2 separate regions of the Homo sapiens genome follow, and region 1 is linked to region 2. The links are contacts of gene promoters, found by promoter capture Hi-C in blood cells and fetal thymus (Javierre and others, 2016). All regions are on one chromosome and are shown on one strand. The core of a region is centred on a gene start or on the middle of the fragment in contact, and the rest is flanking DNA. Distances in the headings are between cores, read along the strand shown.

Region 1 (3,363 bases), core at 489-2,988, 620 kb after region 2:
ACCGAAACTTGATAAACAAGTCAGGAAAAAATGACCACAGGTGGGCCTTGCCTTAGAAGACATCACCACTGTGGTAATTAGCATATAGAGTGCTGGCTCCGGGACAGGCAGCACTGCAGAGCAAGCCGGGCAAGGGCCAGGGCGAACTGGAGGAGGGTCCCTGTGCTTGGAGAGGGGTGAGAGCGGCAGGCTGGACAATTTGGCTTGGTTTTAGACATCGTTGGGACCTACCTGAAGCTGGGGCATACTTCACCTTTGCGCTTACTCATAGGCTGTGTAGCCCGTGCTGGGGAGACCGTCAATCCCAGGCTGAGGTTTTCTGTGGTCTCGCCTGGAAGCCACGGGTGTTTACCAACACCACTCCCACCCCCATACACACTCCCTACTAGGCATTCACTGCCATTTCTGACTTCCCAGGGCTGCATGGCTGCCGAAATTCCCATGCAAGCCTTTAGCCTCCCAGAGCCTGGCTTTGTTTTCCCTTAGAACAGCACATCTTGGTAATCAGCCAATGAAAGAAAAATGGAATGCAGCATTTTGAGCCTCTTCTCTTCAATTCCCTTCTTTCTGGGATTTTGCCTTTAAATTTCAGGTGCCTAGGCAGCCTCAAATTCTGACTTCTGTCTCCTCAGTCAACTGAAATAATCACTTTTTGCTTTGCTTTATCTCCTGGGCTGCAATTCAGAAACTGTCTTCGAGTAAACCCGGGGCACATGGGGCTTGCCTTATGTGCGTCCCTCCTCCAGAGGACCAGCTCCTCACAGCCAATCCATGCTTGTTGCTCTCCAGTGCATCTCATCCTTTGTTTTCTTGTTTTTGCCTAGCTTTTATAGCTATTTTTGGTGATAGGAAGGGTCCAAACCTAGCTACTCTGCAGTGGCCAGGATCAGAAAGAATTTTGCAGTTGTTATTCCAAAATCTCAATAGAATTGTCAAATTTCTCACATACAGTCAAGGCTACTGTCTTCTAATATGGAAGTAGAGGTGAACGCAAAGCCAGCCAACTTAGAGAATTTCCTTCCTCTTCTATAAACATCACCTTCATTTTGGCAGTGCTATCTAGTAGAGTTAGAGCATGTCAGCCACATAGGTAACTTAAATGTTTTCAGTAGCCACATTATTATTATTATTATTATTATTATTATTATTATTATTTTGGTAGAGACAAGGTTTCATTCTGTCACCCAGGGTGGTCTTGAACTCCTGGATGTTTATGTAGGAACACATATTCATTTTAAGTTTCCTCCAATCTCAGTTTCCTGAGATGCCTGTAGCATCCTGCACATTCCTTCTACAGCACATGCACCTTTTACCCAAGATATAAGCCCTGGGTCTGGAGGGTCGCAATGCGGAGATCTGCCTGTCTTGCAACCGCAAAAGACCACACTTCTATCTGTAAATTCCCCCTAAAAAATCACCCAATACCGACAAACTGGATTTGTCTGCCTCTTTCTTTGGTTTCTTGGATCCTGTGTCATTTGGGGGTCATTTTCCATGCACAGCCTTTTCACAGAACACCCAATCATTCATTGTGATTTGCTTCTAAACACTTCAGTATAGATACTGGGGTGTGTGTGTGTGTTTCTGTGCCATCTATACCCTGTGGGCTGTTGCCCCCATCCCAGAGGTGGTCAATTAGCATTCATTAGCAACTAATTGGGATCCTCACTCAAGAAAGCTGTGCTAAGTTTCAAATATTTCTGCAAAGGGGTCATTGTTAATTTGCATAAGACATATCAGAAACTACTTGTATTGGTGAAATAAGTGATGTTCACCACATGGGGCTGTGCTGGTATCTTCCCCCTTTCCCATGAATGTGGTAGGAGAATCAGAAGTGCCCAGTGGTCCCATACTTTGAGAACCATGCCCTGGTTTAAAATCCTGGCCCTGTGTTCCCCACTAAACAGAGGACACCATAGTCTGACACAGTGTTCCCGCCATCAGAGCACATTCCTGTCTGCCTGGAAGGGGCATATACAGGAGCATGTCTGGGCCACCTGAAAACCCAAAGGCTCACAGACCAGGTGGCATGATAGGGGACCTGCTTGCCAATGACAGTTTACTCCCCTGCAGAATTCTTGGTAGTGAGGTTCTGAGGAAGGCAACTAATATTTGCTGATAAACACAGAGAGAACATGGTGACTAGGGAAGACCAGACCTGCTTGGGTGACTCCAAACACTGGTTAGTGGGTTGGGTTTTCTTATTTTCTTGAACTCATGGAAGTAACAAAATATGCTAATAGTAACACAGGGCTAGAAACAGTTCAAGTTTAACGTAGGAAATGATCTTTTCTTTTTTTTTTTTTTTTTTTTTTTTTTTTTTTGAGACGGAGTCTCGCTCTGTCGCCCAGGCCGGACTGCGGACTGCAGTGGCGCAATCTCGGCTCACTGCAAGCTCCGCTTCCCGGGTTCACGCCATTCTCCTGCCTCAGCCTCCCGAGTAGCTGGGACTACAAGCGCCCGCCACCGCGCCCGGCTAATTTTTTGTATTTTTAGTAGAGACGGGGTTTCACCTTGTTAGCCAGGATGGTCTCGATCTCCTGACCTCATGATCCACCCGCCTCGGCCTCCCAAAGTGCTGGGATTACAGGCGTGAGCCACCGCGCCCGGCCGGAAATGATCTTTTCTTAAAAATAATTTGGTCACTATTCTTCAAGGAATTCCCCCAAGGAGTTTTCTCCTAAAGATTAGTCTTTTATCCCTAAGTCACTCCTATCTCCTTCAGTTACAAGATTTTCCCCTTCTTACGGGCTGAGACATCACTTCCTAAATTCATGTCATATGTGGTTGAGAGTAGCCTTCTGTGTAATCAGAGTTCTCCGCAGAAACAGAACCACTGGGATATACAGATGCTCCTCAACTTATGATGGGGTTATGTCCTGATAGACCCACCATAAGTAGAAATATCGTAAGTCAAAAATGCATTTAATACACCCTGCCCACCAAATATCGTAGCTTAGCTTAGCCTACCCTGGCCCACTTTAACATGGTCAGAATAGCAATAGGGAAGAGTATCTTACTGCCTGTGGCTAAGCTGGGAAAAGATCAAAATTCCCATTTTAAAGTATGGTTTCAACTAAATATATATCACTTTTGCATCATTGTAAAGTGAAAAATAATCATAAATTGAACCATTCTAAGTCAGGGGCCATCTGTATATAGGTTTATAAGGGGAATGTGAAGTCCTAATTAGGGAAAAGGAGTCAGGCTGGTGGGACCAGGGGAAAACAAAGAGATAAAGCAAATGAGCTATAGGTCTGCCTTTTTTTATGGCCCAGGACATATGGCCATATGTCCTGGGCCATAAAGATAAGTCTTTTATCCCTAAGTCACTCCTATCTCCTTTAGTTACAAGATTTATCT
Region 2 (2,983 bases), core at 373-2,872:
GTATAGTTTCAGACACCATTTATTTGCAATGAGCGCCCGCCGAGGGAAGGGAATTTCACGGCTCCCTCGCACCGCCGTTCCTTAAGGCTGATGAATCAGACACCTCTTTCGTTCTTACTGTGCATGCCCTCTACCTTTCAGATGACCTATTTGTTGGCCTTTTTCCATTTAGACAATAAACCCAAGTGCACCTTCTGCATCCCTTTGCTCTACGGGAACTGAGGGTGATGAAGGGGACATGCGCCTGGGAGTACCACGCCATGACAGAGCGGCATTGAGTCCTCGGGACAATCAATACACCAAGAGGTGGAAATTAACATCCACAAGAGTGTAGTCATGATTTTCCCCCAGAACAAATATATAAAAGGGATCTTTGTCATAACAATGACAGGAAATCATTAATCACATCAGGATTGAAGTCCCCACTGTAGCAGTGGATGGGAAGACTTCGTCTGTGATCTTCATTAAAAATGCAATATTTTGTATATTTAGCTTTTTTCAAAGTTTTACCAAAACACCTGTAATTAATACAATTTATTGTATTATCTTTGTTAATGTATCTGATGTGCAAAACCTTACTAGATTTGCCCCAATTTGAAGGTGTCTGTGGCTTTCCAGCACTCCATGTGTTCCTAGCTACATCTCACAGGCAGACTTTCTAAAGCAGTGCCTTTCAATAGCACTGTTGGCGACGATGGACAGGTTCTGTATCTGCATTGTCCATTGGGATAGCCACTAGCTGCATGTGGCTATTGAGCACTTGAAATGTACCTGGCATGACTGAGAAACTAGTTAACACTTAAAACATTTTTCTTTTTTGATACAGGGTCTCAGTCTGTTGCCCAGGGTGGAGTGCAGTGGTGCAATCTTGGCTCACTACAACCTCTGCCTCCTGATCCTTCCACCTCAGCTTCCCTGAGTATCTGGGACTACAGGCATGGGCCACCATGCCTGCCTAATTGTTTTTGTGTGTTTTGTAGAGATGAGGTTTCACCATGTTGTCCAGGCTGTTCTTGAACTCCTAGGCTCTGCCTAGTGATCTGCCCGCCTCAGTCTCTCAGAGTGCTGGGACTACAGAGGTGAGCCACTGCACTGGCCCTAGTTAGCATTTTAATTAATTTGAATTTAAATAGGCACATCTGCCTAGTAGCTACTGTGTTGGATAGCACAGCCCTCCGGGTTCTGGTACGTCTGTCAAGGCCAGAAAAGGTATGTTGCGATGGATAGTGCTACATCTGCCACTGGGTGGTAATCTGATACAGGCCTGCTCAGGTGACACCACCTAAAGAAATCTCATCAGTGTGCACCTCTGGCAAGCCTGACAAGGCTGACTTCTCTCGATGGGATCCTCCAATTTCCCCATTCCCTGTAAGCAGCTGTGCTGTCTAGGAAGAGAATTTGCTCTTAGATCATCAGTCTGTATGTGCGTCTTCAGATGAGACAGTTTCCCCTTATCCCAGCAGTTTTCAGCTTTTTGTTTCTGGTTGCAAATGATTGACTCCGCTGATTGCTGGAAGCTACACAGGTGACTCCCCACCCTCTTGGGCTACCCCACCAGTGACAACACAGGCAGGGGTGGCCTGGCTTCCTTTCTCGTGTTGTTATCGGGTAGCTGCCTGCTCAGAACCCACAAAGCCTGCCCCTCATCCCAGGCAGAGAGCAACCCAGCTCTTTCCCCAGACACTGAGAGCTGGTGGTGCCTGCTGTCCCAGGGAGAGTTGCATCGCCCTCCACAGTGAGTATTGCTCTTCTTCTTGTTGCCCCCAACCCAGTGTCATCTTGGCCCTCAGTTGTGTGCTGCTATGATGGCTTCTAAAACCTGGGCTTGCACTCATTTGTTCAGAGGTCATGGGCACCAGGCACTTTTCTAGAAACTTCCAGGAAGGTAAATGGGAATTGGTGATGCCCAACCCAGGTTTCTTGTAGGGCGAGTAATAAAACTCCCTCCCCCTTCACATACATGAAGCTTAGGCTTAAGGCAGTCTGTGATTTATACCTTAAAGGAAGGAGAAGCAGGTGCTGGGGGACAAGATGGTGGCCAGGGGTAAAGGACACACCCATGAGGTCCTTGAGTCTGAGACACTGCCCCATGGAAAGGATTCTTTGTAGCAGTGAAAAACTGGAAACAAGGAAACTATGCATCAGGAGGCGAATGGTTAAATGAATTGTGATGTATCTAGACAATGGAATACACAGCAGCCATCCAATTCTATGATACGGTTCTATGTTGAATTGGCATGGAAGGTGATCCATGAAAGATGGGCAATTAGAAAGCAAGATAGAAGATTATATGTGTAGTCTGATTTCCTTTCTATTAAGTGCGTGTGTGTCTGTGTGTGTGTGTGTGTGTGTGTGAGGTTGTGTTACAGAGAAAAAGTCAGAAAGGAAGTATCTCAGAAACTTAACAATGGCTAAACTAGGAAAGGGTGCTTCAGGAGTTTTTATTTTCTATATTATGTATGTTGGCATTTTGGGGATTTTTTGTGCATTGTAAAAATACTCCTTTATGATCAGAGTAAAGCAAAAAGTTATTTTAAATGACTCATCAGTGGATGCTGGTTTGCCTTTTCAAACACACCTACCCTCTTTAGTTCTGAATTAGCTGTTACTCCATAGACGGCTGGCAAGTCCATCCAGAGAGTGGTCACTGTGTGCTGAACCGGAAGGGCTGTGCAGCAGCCAGTCTGTGGGATCCCATCTCCTTACTCCCTTTCCTGAACGAGCAAAAGCTAATTTACTATTTCAGCATCTGGAATTTCGGAGTCCTTTTCTTCCAATATCTGCTTATCTGTTCTGAAGCCTCTTTGTGTAGGCCTCACTCACAGGCTTGTGTTGGGAGCCCCTGGGCCCTGTGCAGCCCCTGCTGGGCGGTTGGCAGGCATCTGATCCAGGCATGGTGAGTGGATGGATCTGATAGATGGCTCAGAGACCCTGCCTCGTGTAGGGAACAAAAAGCAGAGCTATGAAAAAATGTAAGAGATGA

What was found. The method cuts DNA at HindIII sites, captures the fragments that hold promoters and counts their contacts. A CHiCAGO score of 5 or more calls a contact.
Region 1: a contact is called between a fragment that was not itself captured here and the fragment with the promoter of CCR9 in region 2, in 1 of 17 cell types (neutrophils). The highest score is 5.7, in neutrophils.

The regions. Positions count from the first base shown.
Region 1 is chr3:46,506,023-46,509,385 of GRCh38, forward strand. No RefSeq gene overlaps it. Among named protein-coding and RNA genes, the nearest start is that of RTP3, 9.7 kb to the left of the region's middle. The HindIII fragment of the contact is 7,986 bases long and covers 1-3,363 here.
Region 2 is chr3:45,884,921-45,887,903 of GRCh38, forward strand. CCR9 (C-C motif chemokine receptor 9) reads left to right here and starts at 1,623. Exons shown (of 3, transcript NM_031200.3): 1 at 1,623-1,735. It also overlaps a transcript of LZTFL1 not described here. RefSeq lists a promoter at 639-1,638. The HindIII fragment of the contact is 2,128 bases long and covers 1-1,964 here.